Linked DNA regions of Homo sapiens: all the other regions are linked to region 4. Evidence: promoter capture Hi-C in 16 types of primary human blood cells and fetal thymus (Javierre and others, 2016). All regions are on one chromosome and are shown on one strand. The core of a region is centred on a gene start or on the middle of the fragment in contact, and the rest is flanking DNA. Distances in the headings are between cores, read along the strand shown. Region 1 overlaps PTK2 (protein tyrosine kinase 2). Region 2 overlaps PTK2 (protein tyrosine kinase 2). Region 3 has its middle 34 kb from the start of PTK2. Region 4 holds the start of SLC45A4 (solute carrier family 45 member 4). Region 5 overlaps PTK2 (protein tyrosine kinase 2). Region 6 overlaps PTK2 (protein tyrosine kinase 2).

What was found. The method cuts DNA at HindIII sites, captures the fragments that hold promoters and counts their contacts. A CHiCAGO score of 5 or more calls a contact.
Region 1: a contact is called between a fragment that was not itself captured here and the fragment with the promoter of SLC45A4 in region 4, in 3 of 17 cell types (monocytes, total B cells and naive B cells). The highest score is 9.4, in monocytes.
Region 2: a fragment that was not itself captured here is called in contact with the fragment with the promoter of SLC45A4 in region 4 in 1 of 17 cell types (total B cells); the score reaches 5.1 in total B cells.
Region 3: a contact is called between a fragment that was not itself captured here and the fragment with the promoter of SLC45A4 in region 4, in 2 of 17 cell types (neutrophils and monocytes). The highest score is 8.4, in neutrophils.
Region 5: a fragment that was not itself captured here is called in contact with the fragment with the promoter of SLC45A4 in region 4 in 3 of 17 cell types (naive B cells, total B cells and total CD8 T cells); the score reaches 7.0 in naive B cells.
Region 6: a fragment that was not itself captured here is called in contact with the fragment with the promoter of SLC45A4 in region 4 in 4 of 17 cell types (naive B cells, total B cells, total CD8 T cells and 1 more); the score reaches 9.9 in naive B cells.

What each region holds. Positions count from the first base shown.
Region 1 is chr8:140,939,962-140,942,950 of GRCh38, reverse strand. The region is part of intron 1 of PTK2 (protein tyrosine kinase 2); the gene reads left to right. It also overlaps the pseudogene RNA5SP278. Among named protein-coding and RNA genes, the nearest start is that of PTK2, 60 kb to the left of the region's middle. The HindIII fragment of the contact is 5,639 bases long and covers 1-2,989 here.
Region 2 is chr8:140,799,500-140,802,682 of GRCh38, reverse strand. PTK2 (protein tyrosine kinase 2) reads left to right here. Exons shown (of 36, transcript NM_001352702.2): 12 at 2,107-2,224. Among named protein-coding and RNA genes, the nearest start is that of MIR151A, 68 kb to the right of the region's middle. The HindIII fragment of the contact is 2,299 bases long and covers 329-2,627 here.
Region 3 is chr8:141,033,566-141,036,547 of GRCh38, reverse strand. No RefSeq gene overlaps it. Among named protein-coding and RNA genes, the nearest start is that of PTK2, 34 kb to the right of the region's middle. The HindIII fragment of the contact is 1,736 bases long and covers 425-2,160 here.
Region 4 is chr8:141,307,002-141,309,931 of GRCh38, reverse strand. SLC45A4 (solute carrier family 45 member 4) reads left to right here and starts at 1,644. Exons shown (of 9, transcript NM_001286646.2): 1 at 1,644-1,836. RefSeq lists silencers at 1,409-1,648, 1,669-1,768. The HindIII fragment of the contact is 5,295 bases long and covers 1-2,930 here.
Region 5 is chr8:140,837,760-140,840,614 of GRCh38, reverse strand. All of the region lies in intron 7 of PTK2 (protein tyrosine kinase 2), which reads left to right. Among named protein-coding and RNA genes, the nearest start is that of MIR151A, 110 kb to the right of the region's middle. The HindIII fragment of the contact is 3,778 bases long and covers 1-2,855 here.
Region 6 is chr8:140,820,582-140,823,662 of GRCh38, reverse strand. The region is part of intron 8 of PTK2 (protein tyrosine kinase 2); the gene reads left to right. Among named protein-coding and RNA genes, the nearest start is that of MIR151A, 89 kb to the right of the region's middle. The HindIII fragment of the contact is 6,171 bases long and covers 1-3,081 here.

The sequences.
Region 1 (2,989 bases), core at 93-2,592, 370 kb after region 4:
GCCATACACTTTTAAACAACCAGATCTCACATGAACTCGCTTGTCACCAAGGGAATGGCACTAAGCCATTCATGAGGAATACGCCCCCGTGATCCAAACACCTCCTACCAGGCTGCACTTCCAACACTGGGGACTACATTTCAACATGAGATTTGGCTGGGAAACAGATCCAGTCCTTATCACCATCCACCTGATGTTTTTATTGTGCACGTTATGCCTCAAGAAATAAAACTTTAAAGAGAAGAAAAAGTGACTTATATGCAAACAGATATTATCCATATACTCTTGCACACATATATGCGCGCACACACACACACACACACGCACGCACTCATTAGAGCTCAAATTTTCTTTCCAGCTGGATCAACATTTATTTGTCTGGATTAGGTACCACCAAAGTTGAAGTGAAGTAGATTTCAGTGTAGACACTGCTTTTGAAAACAGTCTTGAAGTCCTTGATTCATTTATGTAATCTGATTTATTTGTGGCCTAAAGGCTTTATATTTGTCTTTGTATAATGAGATTGTATATTATAAAGGTCATATAATTAGCAGAAATAAAAGATGTTTAAAAGTTATTTTAGTATTTGTTGCTCAAGTTCTTGTAGCTCTGGAGAAAAATAGTTTTATCAGCGTTATAAATAAAAATGCTATTTCTTATATTGATGAAACTATGCAGTCTTCAGCTCCATCTTTTAGTTAATAGTTAATGAGCTATAATGGTAGGGTACATTTATGTTTTAAACTGCTAGAATTAAGAATGTACATAGTAAGTCTAGGTGCAGAGGTTCATGCCTGTAATCCCAACCCTTTGGGAGGCTGAGGTGGGAGGATCGCTTGAGCCCAGGAGTTTGAACAACATGGCAACACCTCATCTCTACAAAAAATTTTAAAATTAGCCAGGTGTGGTGGCACATGCCTGTGGTCCCAGCTACTCGGGAGGCTGAGGCGGGAGAATTGCTTGAACCTGGGGGTGGTCAAGCTGCAGTGAGCTATGTTCACCCCACTGCACTGCAGCCTGGACGACAGAGCAAGTCCCTCTCTCAATAAAACAAACAAACAAACAAACAAACAAAAAGTTAGCTGGGCGTGGTGGTGCGTGCCTGTAGTCCCAGGTACTTGGGAGACTGAGGTGGGAGGATCGCCTGAGCCTGAGGGGTCGAGGCTGCATTGAGCTGAGATCATGCCACTGCATCCCAGCGTAGGTGACAAAAGTGAGACCCTGTCTCCAAAAAAAAAATAGAGTTGCTCATTACTACTTTGTGGTACTTGTTGATGTCCTGTGGAGCAGCCATTTAGCATTTTTTTTCCCAATAAACTCTTGGTTAAAAAGCCACAACAGTGAGTAGGAGTGGAATCAAAGTAGAAAGTTGTATGTTCTAATTTTCGTTTAAAAATCAGTTTATTTTAAATGATGAGCTCATCATTTTACGATCTTCAGGATATACTATAATGTGTGGCACTAATAGAATCAGTGATAGAATAAGGTGCATTACAGTAGGGCTTCCTAAGTTGCTTTTTGTTTATTTAATGCATATGCTCTTCTGTGTCTTGAGACACTGTCTCCAGCAGATGAGACCTGTTTATTACAGCCTCTGCAGAGAACTATTTGTGTGTTGATCACACAGTAAATATCTAATGGTAGCCTCTTTGACATTTGGTGTTTGGGAACAGGAGGGAGATTGCTGATTGTTCTGCTTTTTATATTTTATTGTCTCACTCCATCCCTGTATTTTTCTCTGGGAATGTCTTCATTAACTTAACCCTGGTTTTGAAGGCTTAAAAGTGTGCTGGTACGCTTTTTAGAATTGGTGACAGTTCCGGTTGGTGTAGCCCAGGTGGCAGTCATTCATGGTTCACTTGTCATTGCATGAACTTGGGATAGCTGTTCATATTGTGTTCATTTCAGTTGAATTTATGTGTGTGATTGTTGTATTACACATGTTGAATTTATTTTTTTTTAATTAAAAAAATTTTTTTTGAGATGGAGTTTCGCTCTTGTCACCCAGGCTGGAATGCAATGGTGTGGTCTCAGCTCACTGCAACCACTGCCTCCTGGGTTCAAGCAATTCTCCTGCCTCAGCCTCCCAAGTAGCGCAGGTACTCACCACCATGCCCGGCTAATTTTTGTATTTTTAGTAGAGACAGGGTTTTACCATGTTGTCCAGGCTGGTCTTGAACTCCTGATCTCAGGTGATCTGCCTGCCTCAGCCTCCCAAAGTGCTGGGATTACAGGCGTGAGCCACTGTGCCCGGCCATGTTCATATTAAAAAAACAATTTTATTTTAAGCCTACAGCACCCAGTATTTTCAGGCAGCCTCCCAATCCCAATACTACTAACCAGGCCCCACGCTGCTTAGCTTTTGAGATTGGATGGCATGGCTGTAGACCATGGTCATATTTTGGCAAGTGATGTCCCTTATAGCAGTTCTTACCCTTGATACAGGATCCTGTCTGGAATCACTTGTAATATATAGTCATGACTCTTTAGTCTTTTTTTTTTGAGACAGAGTCTCGCTTTGTCACCCAGACTGGAGTGCAGTGGCACTATCTCATCTCACTGCAAGCTCCGTTTCCCGGGTTCAGGCCTGCCTGAGTCTCTCAAGTGGCGCCATCCACACCTGGCCAATTTTTTTGTTTCACTATTTTGGCCAGGCTGGTCTCGAACTCCTGGCTTCAGGTGATCCACCCGCCTCGGCCTCCCAAATGCAAAGTAGTGTTTCTTTCCTGATGTACAGGATGTTGTGTTTTTCATCATGAACATAACTGTTAATCCCAAGTTCTTCAAGCAAAAGTCTGTATTTATTACTTGCCCATCCTATCAGGGATATGTTAGGATATGTCAATACGAACAGTAAGTGTAGCTGGAGCTAGTGATGAGTGAATGTGAATCAAGAAAAGTAAATGGATTTATTCTTTCATTCGACACAGTTGAGTGCCTTCCGTGGGCCAGGCCCCGTGCTCTACTCTGTTCTTCTGTTCATTTTTCC
Region 2 (3,183 bases), core at 229-2,728, 510 kb after region 4:
TAAAAAATGTTACACCTGCATAGAGCCCTTACCATGAGTGGAGCTTGCAGGATTGGAAGCTGCTGTGGGTGAGTCAGTGAGTGAAGGATGAATGTGAAGATCTACGACATTACTGTGCACTGCTGTAGACTATAAACACTGTACACACCATATACTTAAATTTATTTTTAAAACCTTTTTCAGTAGTAAACATTAGCTTACAGTAACTTTTATATTTTATAAACTGATTTTTTTCGGCTTTTTTGACTCTTGTAATAACAATTAATTTTAAATATATTGTACAGCTGTACAAAAAATTTTCTTTTTTTACATACTTATTCTGTAAGCTTTTTTCTAGTTTTAAAATGATTTTCTGTGTTTTTTACTTTTTCAGCTTTTTTGTTAAAAAGTAAGACACAAACATACACGCTAGCCTAGGCCTACACAGGGTCAAGAGTATCCATATCACCATCTTCTACCTCCACATCTTGTCCCACTGGGAGGTCTTCAGGGGCCGTAACACACATGAAACTGTCATCTCCTATGAGAACAGTGCCACTTTCTGGAATACTTTCTAGAAGCCCTGCCTGAGGCTGTTTTACATTTAACTTTTTTTTTTTAAATAAGTAGAAGTACATTCTAATTAAAAAAAAAATAGTAAATACATAAACCAGTAACATAGTCATTATCCAGTATTATGTGCTGTACATAATCGTATGTGCTATACTTTTATAAGACTGGCAGCACAGTAGATTTTTTTTACACCAGCTTCACCATAAACATGAGCATTACAACTTCAGGATGGCTACGGCATACCTAGCAATAGGAATTCTTAGCTCTATTATATAAATCTTATGGAACCACCATTGTATATGCGGACCATCATTGACCAAAATGTTGTTATGTGGTGCATTGACTATATATACTGTAAACTGAGTTAATTTCCACACTGTGTTGTCCATGATATTCTCTGGGTAGAAATTATTATGTGATTATAATAGTTATTATTATATGATTATAATAATTATAACAGCAGCAGTACCTGATACTGGGCACATGCTACCTGTGGTTCTTTACGCAGAAGCCAAGAGAAGCTGTGTCATTGTCACAACCAAGGAAGTAGATACTTTGATATACTTTGGTTAACCCCATTCTGTAGCTGAGGAAACTGAGGCATGAGAGGTTGGCCACATCAAGTAATTGACAAGAGATGGGGTTCATACCCAAACAGTCTGGATCCAAAGCCTGTGTTCTTAATCAACAGGCAACAGTGATTTAAAACAAGTGGCATGAGAAAGAGCCATTTGGCAAATACTACCTAATGTGGTCCTTTCTGCAAGATGGACAAAATACACTCGTGTATGAAAGGATCTGGACAGTCTGGTGGCACACACGGTTGTGCTGGTGTGTAAAGCATGTTTTTTGAAGCTCATCTGTTTCCATCAGCACACCAGGATTCTTTGGTCTGTTAACGGCCAGTTCTCTGGGTAGCTTTATTTGCAGCACTCCTCACTTAGGCTGATGCCTCGTCACTCTTCTGCCCTGTGATTCTGTGAGTTTGGTGACATCTGAGGGCTCTAGGAACTCTTGTTGATTCTGGAGATTAAGCAAATATTACCAAACAATATCAAATTTTATATTGGAAAGAGAATGATTTCTAAGCCCTTGGGCGAACATGCTATATGTGCTAAAAATAATGAAATTTTATTAATTTTCTTTTACATTAGAAATTATGATGGATGGTTGATAAAAAATTTACTCCACATTAGTTTCTGATAGAAGTCATACTTTAACTTACTGATTGTCTAAATTCTTCCCTTAACTGGAGTATGCCAGAGGGGCCAGACACTCTGAAGGAAAATACTTTTTTCATCTCTTTTGATTCTAGAAAGTGAGCCCCAGTTTAAGTGATTTTTCTGTTTTCATCTGGGTTTGCATTTGTCACATATTCTAGGAATAATGTCCTTAAATATCAGATTTCCTTTCTCAAATCTCATGACAAATCTTGTTTCATTCCCACTCTTCTCTGTTTTCAAGTGTATAGAGATGTCTGATGTCATAGCACAGCTGTCCTTTGCTTACTGGGAAGAACAATGAAGTCTGTTTTCTTGATCTTTTCTCCGTTAGCCTCTGACAGTGACGGCACCATCCCTAACCATTGCGGAGAATATGGCTGACCTAATAGATGGGTACTGCCGGCTGGTGAATGGAACCTCGCAGTCATTTATCATCAGACCTCAGAAAGGTGAGGTGCTGTTTCTGAGCATTCCCAATTGCGCTTCTACCAAATATTTAGCTGTGCTTGCCCCTAACAGCCTGTTATCCTCTTTTAGGTAACTGTAAAAATGAAGACCAAATGAATAATTCAGCTCAGTATAATCTGAGGACTTATTTTTCTAGGGATGGTGATCCGTTTCACACCTTCCACAAGCCAAGAGCTGGGTTTGAATAGAGCCTAAAAAAAACATTGTCTGTGTTTTGAGCTACCTACTTAGAGGATTTTCTAAATTGCCATTACTATTTTTAAATACATTAGTATTTTTAAAATTTTGGGTTTAAATAAAATTCTGGGTTTAAAAAAAGGAATCCGTTATAACTCACTATAAATAAAGTGTCCTTTCTACTTTTTCTTATATATCTCAAAAGCTTAGAGCATTCAAAGAAGAAAGTACAGTCTAAGTCATGATGTTAAAAAATCAAAGATTAGAATGAATAAATATCCTAGAAACGTCACTATAAAAGCGGTGTGGAGTTTTTGCAAGCATATAATGAGGAATGCTTTTGAGGATTTGGATTTCTGAAAGAATCAAATGAAAATATTCCCAGCAGGATAATAGCATACATAGTGTGAAGCAGGGAAAGACTGAGTTTGGGAATTATGGGACTTAAGTTCAAATCATGAGTCCTCTGTGACACCATCTATAAATTACTTTTCTGAGCCTCAGTTCTGTCATCTGGTCAAACACGAAGAACAGTAACTGTCTTCTATGGTATTAGGAGGATAAAGGACTTATTTATAGGCTTGGAACTATGCCTGGCACACTTGATGCTCCTAGATTTTAGTTGTATTGTTGTTCCTGTTGTTGCTACTAGTTGAGTCTGATCTTGACACTGTATCAGCCTAGACTTTGAGATACCTCATCTGTAAAAGAATGATACCTATTTTGTAGGGTTGTTAGACACCTCCCAAGGAGTAACTGTAAA
Region 3 (2,982 bases), core at 43-2,542, 270 kb after region 4:
TGGTCATTTGTTACAAGAGCTTTGAAAACAAATATACCACAATAGCCCTTCCACGATCCTGCAAGCCTGCAAGCAGGTGACAGAAACGTAGGTCTCCTTGGCACCCCCATCCCATGGAGCTTGGCCAGCCACGGGGGCAGCATGTGGGAGGAGGCAAGGCAAACATATTCTAAAGGTGGCGCTCACCCTGGCTGGGCTGGAGGCTGATGAAGCTTCAGCCTGTGCTCCTGAGACAGCGGAGGCTCTCCCGGGCCCAGAGACCTGCAGACCTCAAGGGGAAGCAATCTCAGCGAAAGTGCTGCCTGCGGTCCGCGGTCAGGCAAGGAGGAAGTGGTGAGCGCGGCAGGAGCTCAAGGCCGGGACATGGGGGTGTGCCCAGCGAAGCGAACAGCAAAGGTGAATTTGCCGGGATGCTGATAAAGCTTACGTTTCTGCGCCCCCTCTAAAGCCCTGTACCTGCTTTTGTAGTTTTTTCTGGAAGGGGATGCCCCTCAGTTGTATCAGCATCGGATCCCACAAACCCTGGATCCCTCCCTGCTAACACCAGGGCCACAAGAGCACATCGCGCATGCAGAGCCAATTGTGTTGATGTTTTCTCAGGTTTTCTGTTGTCTGACCATCCAGCCAACCAGTTTTTTTATGCAGTCGTTCATCCAGCCCTCTACACAGCCAACCAATCTCCATGATTGAGTCTCTGCCACGGGACATACTCCCTGCTCTCAAGAGACTCATGCTTCGAGGCGGGGGAAAGGGGGCATAAATAAGAAGCAATTAAACTGGCTCTGCCATGAGGAGTGGGGGCAAGAGGTGAGCTGAAGGGAAGAACAGTGGAGGGAATGATTGCCTCAATCTGGAGGTCAGAACCGCCCTACCACGGAGATGACCTGAGTTTTGAAGGATGCGTAGAAGTCACCATCAGACAAGAGGGAGGGCAGCTCAGGCAGGGGAACAGCAGGGGCAAAGGTGTGGGACAGCACTGGGCACTTGGGGACTCACTGTGACTCAGCCTGTGACTCAGCCCTCCTGTGGCACCAGGGCTGCTGGATGGAAAGGGAAGAGCAGGGAAGGCCAGAGCCAGGCAGTGGGGAGCGAGGGCAGGAGGGGAGATGGGAAAGAGGGCCTCACGGAGTGTGCTGGTTTCCTGTGGCTGCCGTAACAAAGCACCATACACATGCGGGCTGAAAACAGCAGAAATGTATTGTTTTAGAGTTCTGGAGACTGAAGCCTGAAATCAAGGTGTTGCAGGGCCAGGCTCTAAGGGCAGAACCTTCCTGCCTCTTCCAGCTTCTGGTTTCAATCTTCAGCGTTCCTTGGCTTTCAGCTGCCCCACTCCAATCTCTGCCTCCAGTGTGGTGTTCCTGTGGGTCTCTCGTACCTCTTCTTATAAAGACACTCAGATAAGTTTAGGCCCCCCAATTGAGCCTAACGCGATTGCATCTACAAAGACCCTATTTCCAAATAAGGTCCTATTCACGGTTACTGGGAGCTGGAGCTTCAACAGATCTTTTGGGAAGACACAATTCAACTCACGACAGGGAGGAAGAATTGCGAGTACTTGCTACTGCTGTGATGCCGTGGAGTGAGCAGAAAGGTGAGGAGTTCCTGGGTTTAGGAGGAAGTTGGGATCCACACATGCTGACGTGGATGGCCCTGGTCAGGAGCTGAGGCCTCTAAGATGAGCTGGGCATGGTCGGTGGCTTACAGGGGCTCCTGGTCAAGCAGGGAGGCAGGAAGGAGCCCAGCCCTGCCAGGCACAGAGATGAGCATGTCTTGGGGACACAGGGCAGGGGCAGAAGTGGCCTGAGGGGGCAGCGCAGGCCCCAGAGAAGTACCTGTAGACTCGAGCCAAAAATGCTGTCATCGTCTCTGACTGATGGCTCCCGGGTGTGCCCATCCAGCCTGGCCTCTCCTGAGCACCTGGCTCCCGTGTGTATCCACCAGCTCAGTCCTCTCTGTCCCATCAAGCTCCGCACACCCTCAGCCAAATCCACCAGCCTCGCTTTCCAAAACAGCTCTTCCTGTCTTCCACCCTGGCCTCTTCAAGAAGGGCCCTCCCCGAAGTCCCTCAACCTGCCCTTGAGGGTGGCCTTCCCACAACTCCCCCAGCCTCCGCCTCCACCTAAGCCTTACTTTCACTTGTTCCCAGGGTCACCCAAAGCTTCCAAGGATTTAGGCAGCAAGTAAAAGAAAACAATCCTTGGTCTGGGCGTGGTGGCTCACGCCTGTAATCCCAGCACTTTTGGAGGCCGAGGCGGGTGGATCACGAGGTCAGGAGATCGAGACCATCCTGGCTAACATGGTGAAACCCCATCTCTACTAAAAATACAAAAAAATTAGCCGGGCGTCGTGGCGGGCGCCTGTAGTCCCAGCTACTCTGGAGGCTGAGGCAGGAGAATAGCGTGAATCCGGGAGGCGGAGCTTGCAGTGAGCCAAGATGGCACTGCACTCCAGCCTGGGTGACAGAGCAAGACTCCATCTCAAAAAAAAAAAGAAAACAATCCTTCCCAGCCAGTCTGCCTCTGCCCGGCCTCCAGCAAGCTCCAAGCTGGTGCGTGTTTTCTCAACTTTCTTTAAAACAAAGGTATAGTTATCCTTTGATATCTGTGGGGGGATTGATTCCAGGACCCCCACAGATACTAAAATCCAAGGATGTTCAAGTTGCTTACATAAATTGGAGTATTACTTGCATACAACCTATGCACATTCTCCCGTACACTTCAAATCATCTCTAGATTACTTATAATACCTAATATAATGAAAATGCTATGGAAATAGTTGTTATACTGTATTTTGAAATTGTGTATTATTTTTATTGTTTTATTGTTATTTTTCATTGTGGATTTTTTTCCCCCAAATATTTTCAATCCACAGTTGGTAGAACCCAACCCACAAATCCCCGCAGATATGGAGGGCCAACAGTAATCGCCGTACCTCCTCCTAAGTTTGTTACAAAGAGTAAGTGAGAAAATACATATGAAGGAT
Region 4 (2,930 bases), core at 395-2,894:
CCAGCACTCAGACCAAGACACAGAACACAGCCAGCCCCCAGACACGTCCTCTGTGCCCTGCTTCCTGGCTCTGGCACCCCTCCCTCCAAGGGTAACCACTATCCTGACTGCTACCCCCATATACACCTTCTACCACTTTATCCACATGGAAACAAATATGGCTTTTTATCCTCTGGCTTCTTTTCCTCAACATCATTTGTGAGAGTCATCCATGTTGTTGTGTGTAGTTGATTATTCACTGTCATTGCTGTCATTCCACTGTGTGAATATATCACAATTTATGTATCCATTTAACGGCTGATGAGCATTTCAGTAGTTTCCAGTTTGGGGCAATTATAAACACTGCTGCTATCAACAGAAACACAATGTTAGGTGTGTATCTAGGAGCAGAATTGCTGGGTAATCAAGGCCTTTCAAAAAGATTTTGAAAGTTGTACCACTTTGCATGTCCACCAACAGTGTCTGGCAGTTCCAGTTGCTCCATTTCCTTGTCAACACTTGATATGGTCAGATTTTCCCATTTCCGATGCTCTTGGAGGCTCTGCTCTGCACTTCACTTCTAAATTCCTTTAGCAACAGGTGAGATGGATCTTACGATTTCTATTTTACAGATGAGGACGCCAAGGTTCTGAGAAATGAAGTAATTCCTCCAAAGCAACTTAAACCCTGGCAAGGGTGCAGGGCTGCGACGTTAACAGGGTTGGCCTCAGCCCATCACATCTGTCTGTTAAAGCCGCCTCCCCAGACCTTGTCTTGATGGGGTTTCCCAGCAGTCCTGCCCTAGGGATTGTGGCCCTTCTACACGTGGGGAGAGACGGATCAGTGTCCCTGGCCAGGGCCAAGCCTGAGAGGGAGGCCCAGCCTCCAGGAAGCTCCGGGTCGGGTCTTCGTCCTGCCCCGCTCTCCAGGTTGGAGAGGGGACCCGCAGAGCGCGGGGCGTTGGGGGAGTTGGGGACGGGGGCGTGGTCCGGGACCAGGTAGGAGGTCTTCGGAGGGTGGCAGGGAGGGGAAAACAGGAGAGTTTTCTCCTGCAGCGGAGGAGGGGCTGCAGCACCTGGATGGGGCCCATGTCGCCGCGCCACGGGCAGGGGCGGAGGGGGCGGGAGGGTGCTTGCCAAGGGGCTGGGCTGCCGGGGGCCGGGGCCTCGTGGCTAGCCGGACCCCTCTGCGACAGAGTGGCGAGAGGAGCGGGGAGAGAAGGTGGGGACAGGCGGGGGCCACCTCCTGCGGCTGCAGAGAGGGATGGGGTGGATTGCGGGCCAGCGCTTTAGGGGAGAGAGGGCGGACGCTCGGTGCGGAGGGGCCGGGGCCGGGGCCGGGGCCGGGGGCGTAGCGGGAGGAGGGCGGGGGCGGGGCTGGATTATGGCTGGGGGCGGGGCCATGGCGAGACGGGGGCGGGAGCCACGGTGCGCGCGGGGGCGGGGCAGGGGCGCGGCGGGGGCGGGGCGGCCGTTCGGGGGCGGGGTGGGCGGCAGCGGAGGCCAATGAGCGCGCGCGGCGCAGACCCCGCCCCCCGAATCCCCGTCCCGCGGCGGCGGGTGCTGCATAGTCATGAGGCGCAGGGGCCGGCGCTGCGTCAGCGGAAGCGGCGCGGAGCGGCTGTTTCCGACCCGATAAAGCGGCGTTGTCTCCGCGCGCCGGCCGCAGCCTCGCAGCGCTCTCTCCGCGCCCGCGTCGCTGACTGACCGCCCGGCCGGCCGGCCGAGGGAGCAGCCCCCGCCCGGACCCGCAGCCGCCTCCCGACCCCGGTGCGCCCGGGGCTCCGCGCCCCCGTAGCCCCTGCCCGGCCCGGCCCGGCCGCCCCGCCGCCCCCGCGGCCCCGGCCGGAGGAGACAGGTGAGTGGCCTGCCGCCCGCAGCCGCCTGCCCCGCCGCCCCCTGCACCTCGCACCTGGGCGCCGGGCACCTGCAGCCTCCCCACCCCCACCTCCCGCACAGCCTCGGCCTCCAGGTCGGGTCCGCGCCGCAGCCCCAGCCCCGCACCTTCTCCGGGGGAGGGGACGTGCCCCCACCCGGCTTGCGCTGGCTCCTCAGGGCCCCCCAATTCCTTCCCGCCTCCTCTTTCCGGATTGCACCTGCCCTGGTCCCCAGCCCTGCAGCCTCCCTCATTCCCCCCACCCCGGCCCCCACCCCGGGGCGCGCGCCTTCATTTGGACCCGGCCCGCTTTCGCACCCATCAGTCCTCCCCGCCCCCAGTTCCTCGGTTTCTCTACCCAGAGAGGAGCCTGGCGCCTCTAACTCCTGGTCCTGACCCTGTCTTGTCCTTCTAACCCCTGCCTGCTATCTCTAACTTATGAGAATTCAACCAGCGATACACCACTCGCGAAGTGGCCCCCTCTCCCCTCTGTCTGGACCGGTCCTCCCAACCGAACACACTCCCTTCTTCCCCTTCTTCCCCTTCCCTTCTTCCCCTCCTTTCCCTCTGCCCAGTGCACACACGACCCTGGCAGCACTGCTAGCCAGTGTCCCCCGCCTCGGACCCCCAGCCTGCACCGCCAGACTGTGGCTCTGCCCCGGTCTCATCGGCACTGCGCTCCCTTGTGTCCCTTTGAAGATACCTTGATTTCCTGAGACCGACCTTGTCCCTGGAGGAAAGAGGCCAGGGCATCAGTTCATCCGGGCCCAGATTCCCTGCTCTGTAGAAGTCCCCGCACCTTCTGCGTCTCAGCACCCGCTGCCCCTTTCCCCTTTGCGCTTAACCCGTTCCTCCCCCAGGTATCCTGCTCTGGATTGGAGCACTTCCAGCAGCGGCTTTTCCAGCGGAGGCGGATCCACACGGGGCCCAGCCTCCTGGTTAGCTATTCAGAATGATTCTAGAAGGCGGGGGCTAGGGAGGGCTGGGAAGGGCCGCTTGACCTCCTAAGGAGCCTGAGGTGTTTGTGTCTCTCCAGTGCGGGTCACTGATGGAGTGTGGCTTCAGGTTCACAGACC
Region 5 (2,855 bases), core at 115-2,614, 470 kb after region 4:
TTTCATTAGTTACCCTTACATTTAACCTTCTATATTAACCAACTCCAGATTTTAAACTTATCTAACCCTCTCTTAAACAATACAAGGACCTTTAAACACCTTAACTCTCCCCATCTTCTTCCAACTTACACATCATTTTTTCCTGTTATTTTAGTTATATCTTTTCAAAATTGAAACTCCAAATATTAGACATTATTATTATTTTATACAGTTATTATTTTTGGCTTTCCCTACATGTATATGATTTTATTTCTTAAACATCCTATATTGGGCCAGGTGCAGTGGCTCATAACCTATAATCCCAGCACACTGGGAGGCCAGGGTAGGAAGATGGCTTGACCAGCACGGATAGCATAGCGAGACCTCATCTCTACAAATAATTATAAAAATTAGCCAGGCGCGGTGGCACGCAGCTGTGGTCTCACCTAGTCGGGAGGCTGAGGCTGGAGGATTGCTTGAGCCCAGCTTGTTGTGGCTGCAGTGAGCTATGATCATGCCACTGCACTCCAGCCTGGGCAACAGAGGAAGACCTTGCTTAAAATAACCATTTTTGTATCTCAGACCACCCTTCTGGTATGCTTTTCCTTTTATTCCAAATATATTGTTCTGCTCATTGTTTTTTTCTCAACACTGTAAAGATACTCTGTTATGACAAGAAATGTCTGTTGACATTTCTTTATGGTTGCTCTTTCTTTTAAGGTCCTTTTCCTACTTTTCATCTTTTCTAGTTTTATTCATGTCTTGTGCTTCGATTTCTTTTTATAAATCCAGTTGGAATAAGACATACTTCTCAATTCTGTAGATTCATGTTTTTCATCTGGAAAATATATGCCACTATCTCTTTAATAATCAACAGATATATTTCTGATCTTTGCTGTCTCTTACATTTTTCGTGTTTTCTATCTCTCTGTCTCTCTGGATTCTCTCTTTTTTGGGGGAGATATTTCTTTGGATTTGTCTTATAATTCTTTAATTCTCTTAAGTAGTATCTTTATGCCATACGTTGTTCATTGTTTTTTTCATTCTACCACTTATATTTTTTCATTTCTAGACATTCCATTTCATGTGATGTAATCTTCTTCATGCTTGGTAACCTCTGGTATGCCCATCTGTGGTGTTTGTGCCGTTTATTTCTTCAAGTTTTTATGCATAGCTGTTTTCTGTTCTGTATTTGACAATAACCTTGAGGTACTGGGGTGTCTCAATCTGCTGTTACTCTGACTCTCACTCAGGCCACCAAAGTGGCTTGGATTAGAGGCTGGTGGCCCTAGACTGGGCAAGCTGAGTTCCAGGGGGCTTTGTTTACACTGCTGCGGCTTCTGGCAAGAGCCAGGAAATGATGCCACTTCCGCCTTCGTCAGGTCCAACCTCAGTGCCCAAGCGCCGGGTTCATCATCCCCACCTTGCAGGTACCGTCGGTCCAGAAACCCAAAAACAGTTTCCCTTCTGCCTGTCGTGCTTTGTGTTAGTGTGTGTGTGCTGGGGGCGTCCTAGAAACCGGCATGTTTATCACCCTGTTGCCTAAACATTCTTCATTGTAGCTCAATCTGTTTCCAACATTAGTTTCCCTTTTACTTTTACTTATAAGTTTTTTTTTTGTTTTTTTTTTTGAGACGGAGTCTCACTCTGTGCCCAGGCTGGAGTGCAGTGGCGCGATCTCGGCTCACTGCAAGCTCCGCCTCCTGGGTTCACACCATTCTCCTGCCTCAGCCTCCTTAGTAGCTGGGACTACAGGTGCCCGCCACCATGCCCAGCTAATTTTTTGTATTTTTAGTAGAGACGGGATTTCACCATGTTAGCCAGGATGGTCTCGATCTCCTGACCTTGTGATCCGCCCGCCTCGGCCTCCCAAAGTGCTGGGCTTACAAGCGTGAGCCACCGCGCCCGGCCTAGAAGTTTTTAATATGTAGTTTTTGATAATAAAATTCTGTTTTTAAATCTGTCTCTTTTTAAAAAATTTCACCCTTGTTCTTGAAAGGTAGCTTAACAGATGCTGGTCAAGCAATCTTCCCACTTTGGCCTCCCAATGTGCTGAGATTATAGGTATGAGTCACCATATCTGGCCCGATAATAGCTTAACAGAGAAAATGTAACTATTAACCTGGTTACATTTTATATAATAAAGATACTTAACAATATTGCATTTGGCCATTGTAAAGGCTGATGCCAGTGCTTTAGGAGTGGCCTGGCTGAGAGGATGTGCAGGGACTCGCATGCACACACCATGGCTGTTCTACCACAGGAGCAACTGGGAACCCCAGCAGCTCTCTCAAGGAGTGTGTTGGCATTTCTTTTTCCTATTGGTTTTGGCTAGTAACTTGGAGCCATTTAGAAATTTATATTTCTTCGGTACAGAAAGGAATTATACATGAATACAGAATACTGCTTGTTTCTTATTAGTTCATTTCATGGTTCTCTTTTTCCTTTCTAATAAGAAAACTCATGATATGTTCCACATAATTTATTAGATTCCGGCAGGAATTTTAAAGTCAAACTCAGTTGTTTACAGCCTAATGCACAATGCCCTTTCAGCTTTACTGTACTTTTTTTTTTGAGATGGAGTCTTGCTCTGTTGCCCAGGCTGGAGTGCAGTGGCGTGACCTCGGCTTGCAGCAACCTCCTCCTCCTGGATTCAAGCAATTCTCCTGCCTCAGCCTCCTAAGTAGCTGGGATTGCAGGTGCCCACCACTGTGCCCGGCTAATTTTTTTTGTATTTTTAGTAGAGATGGGGTTTTACCATGTTGGCCAGGCTGATTTTGAACTCCTGACCTCAAGTGATCAGCCCGCATCGGCCTTCTAAAGTGCTAGGATTACAGGTGTAAGCCACCGTGCCCAGCTGCTTTACTGTATTTCTA
Region 6 (3,081 bases), core at 147-2,646, 490 kb after region 4:
GAAAGAGTAAGTTCAGAGTGATAGAGTTGCAACCAAGTTAGATGTATATGTTAGGGTCCAGTCGGGTAGGGCCAATAAGCCACCACGGCTGAAATCTCAGTGCTCTTAGTGGCAGGTTTTAGATGTCTGTGAGAAACTGCAGTGGAACTGTCAGGTAGGCAGGTGTGTATATATATATATGCATTTTAACCTCAAGAGCAGATTCTGTTTCCTCGACTTCTATCTCCGTTACTTCATAGAATGTTTTAGGTTAATTTTAAAAAGCATTGAACAAATGAGCAGGTGTCAGTATATTATAATATTGCCAATAATTTATATATAAACCAGCAGCTGGTTGGGAATTAGGTACAAAGTAGAGAATTGACTTTTTTTCTGTACCTATTTTACATAATTTTTGATCACTGCATGTCAGTATTTACCTGAGTTGAAATATTCCTCTTAGAGTCATGAATGAATATACCAACATTTGGTTAATGTTAATAGAAATGTTTTGTCATTGTGTTCTGGTCCCTGTGTTCAGTTGACAACTGTTCCTTGCAACTGCTACCATATTCCAATTTATTGTATCATACACTTAAAGAGATTTTTTTATATTCCAGGGCTTTTGCTGGACTTATTTTCTATTAATACTTGTAGATGGGAGACATTTCTTACACTCAGAGCATTTGTACATTGAGGCAGCATGTTCTATGATAGAAGTTTGAAACTAAAGAAATCTGAACTGTCTTCCCACTTACTTACTAGAAAGTGAAACCTAATTTATCACAGGATAGAACTAGATTTTATTCATCCATATTATCTGTTTGAGAGTTTGCCAGAATCCAAGTTGTTATGGCAGAGACATGTAATTATTCATTGTAAAAGCACATCATTGAGTTTCAGCTGCGGGCTATACTCTTTTCTTTGGGGTAACAAGGCAGTGCATGCTCCCTTATCACCAACGTGGATCTTATATAAGTGCCATGTCTAAAAATACATTCAAAGCAGTATGAGACCCATAGGGATGTGGTGGTTGTTTCTTCCTGGTTTCTTCTATCAAGCAGAGCATCTTAGAAAAGGAGGTGTTTGAATTGGTCTCATAGCAAGTAAAAAGAAATCAAGTAGTTCTGGATTAGAATCACAATTCTTGTACCCCCTCGTTGTTACCTAATGTTTCAGTCTCTGTTTGCTCAGTAATATATGAAAAATAGTATCTCCCTTGCAAGGGTCATTGTGAAGACTTTGTTTATTTCCACGGAAGGGCCTACAGATGTCTTTTCTGGTATCATTTTTTGGTAGTGTGTGTGTGTTTGTGTGTGTGTGTGTGTGTGTGAATCAGCGCCTAATAGCACTATATGCACAGAATTATACTGTTCCTCCTGTAGCCATGAATGAAGATCAGAATGCTCTTTTTCCAGCTGTACTCTGAATTTATTGAGAATAGATACCTGTTCTGATTATGCAGTGTATGCCAAGTGCCAAGCACAGAGTAGAATTTCCTTAGTGGATTTGTTCTAGGTCCAGAGTGTAGCGGGCCTGCTTCTTAGAGACTGCTTTATATTCAGCAAAGTCCCAAGGTACTATATTGTTAATTTATAAGGAGAAAAACATCATGTAGGTGGCTACAAGCAGTACTCAAATCTCCATGTCCAATCTGCATGCTCTGTTGTAGAGTCTGTCCTACATAGGTGATCATAAGCAGAGAATGTTTAGAAAGCCTGGAGTCAAACCAAGAATATGCTTTTCGGACTTTTGTTTATAGAGCATCTGAGGCTGACCACCTCACTTTCCATGTGATACATTTTATAGTCAAGCCTTGCTAACCTTGAACCCATTTTATTGCTCTTCAGTTTAAGTTCTGTGAAGCTGTAATTAATCCTTTTCAAAACAGCTATAATTCTCTTATTCCACTCTGTCATACTCACCTGTCAAAACCTCAGCCCTGGTTAAAACCAACTATTGGTCAGCTTACTTAGCTTTGGCCTTCTCTTTTGTCTTCATTTTATTTGCAGGTGCCATCTAGTCCCATGTATTTAAATACTTCAGCTGGTGGCTCTGAAATTTCTAGCAACAGTGCTGCCCTCTCCTGAGCTCCAGACTTAGATCCAAATGTCTCCTTGATGGTTCATGTTGGAAGACTTCAAGGTCAAACACATGTACAGGGTTAACATGACTTTATTTTTTTCACCAAGCCTGCCTCTTATGTTTGCCTGTTTGTTCCATCTAAAACTCTACTTTTCCTGGATTCTTTACTTTCCAGTTGTCTTGCATATGATCATCCAAATGTCCCAAAAGTGCCCATTTCTCTTCTTCACCACTACCTTGGGGTCCATGCCACTAGTGTTTTCTTGCTTGATCTGTTACAGTGACCTGACTGGTCTTTCTGCTTTCACTCCTACACACTCCCCCAACCCTCTGTGTGCAAGAGCAGAGCGAGCTTTTTAAAATAAAAGTCACATGCCTTAGGTAATCCTCCCATGTTCCACTATCTTGGCTCATTGAATTCCTGTCTTCAGGAATCTTGTCCTCTGCCTTACCTCAACCTCTCACTCTGGTCTTATTCATTTCCAGTAATCGAACCCCCTCCCTAATTGTGTGTATCCTTCTCTCTGACCATAGCTCCTGTCTTTCCAGCTCACTTTCTGTAGTATCCCAGATCCAGTAATCCTTGGATCCTACTAGGACCTTCAAGCCACTACAGACAGGCTATTACCTCCATGACCCCACCAAAGTATGCCATGCCCTCCTAGTTTACGGTGTACCTGACTTAGCAGCCACACCTCAACCTGGGCCCCTGGCTGCTCCCCATGTCCCTGACCCACTGAGATTAGCAGGTCACCTAATCCATCTTCCCTGTCTGCTGGGCCAGCCAGGACCTCCCCTTGAACTCCACTGGGCCCTTACTGGCCTGCTTGACAGCTCCACTTGGATTTCTGGTATTCTTCTGGCATTCTTTCTGACCTTTACCCACCAAACTGCTCCTCTCACAATTTCTGCCATTTCAGTTTAATGGCAACTCTTAATTATTAGCATATCCTGTTGGTTCTATGTTTAAAGTAAATCCATTGGAGTCCAGTTACTCTGGAAAAAAAAAAAAAAAAG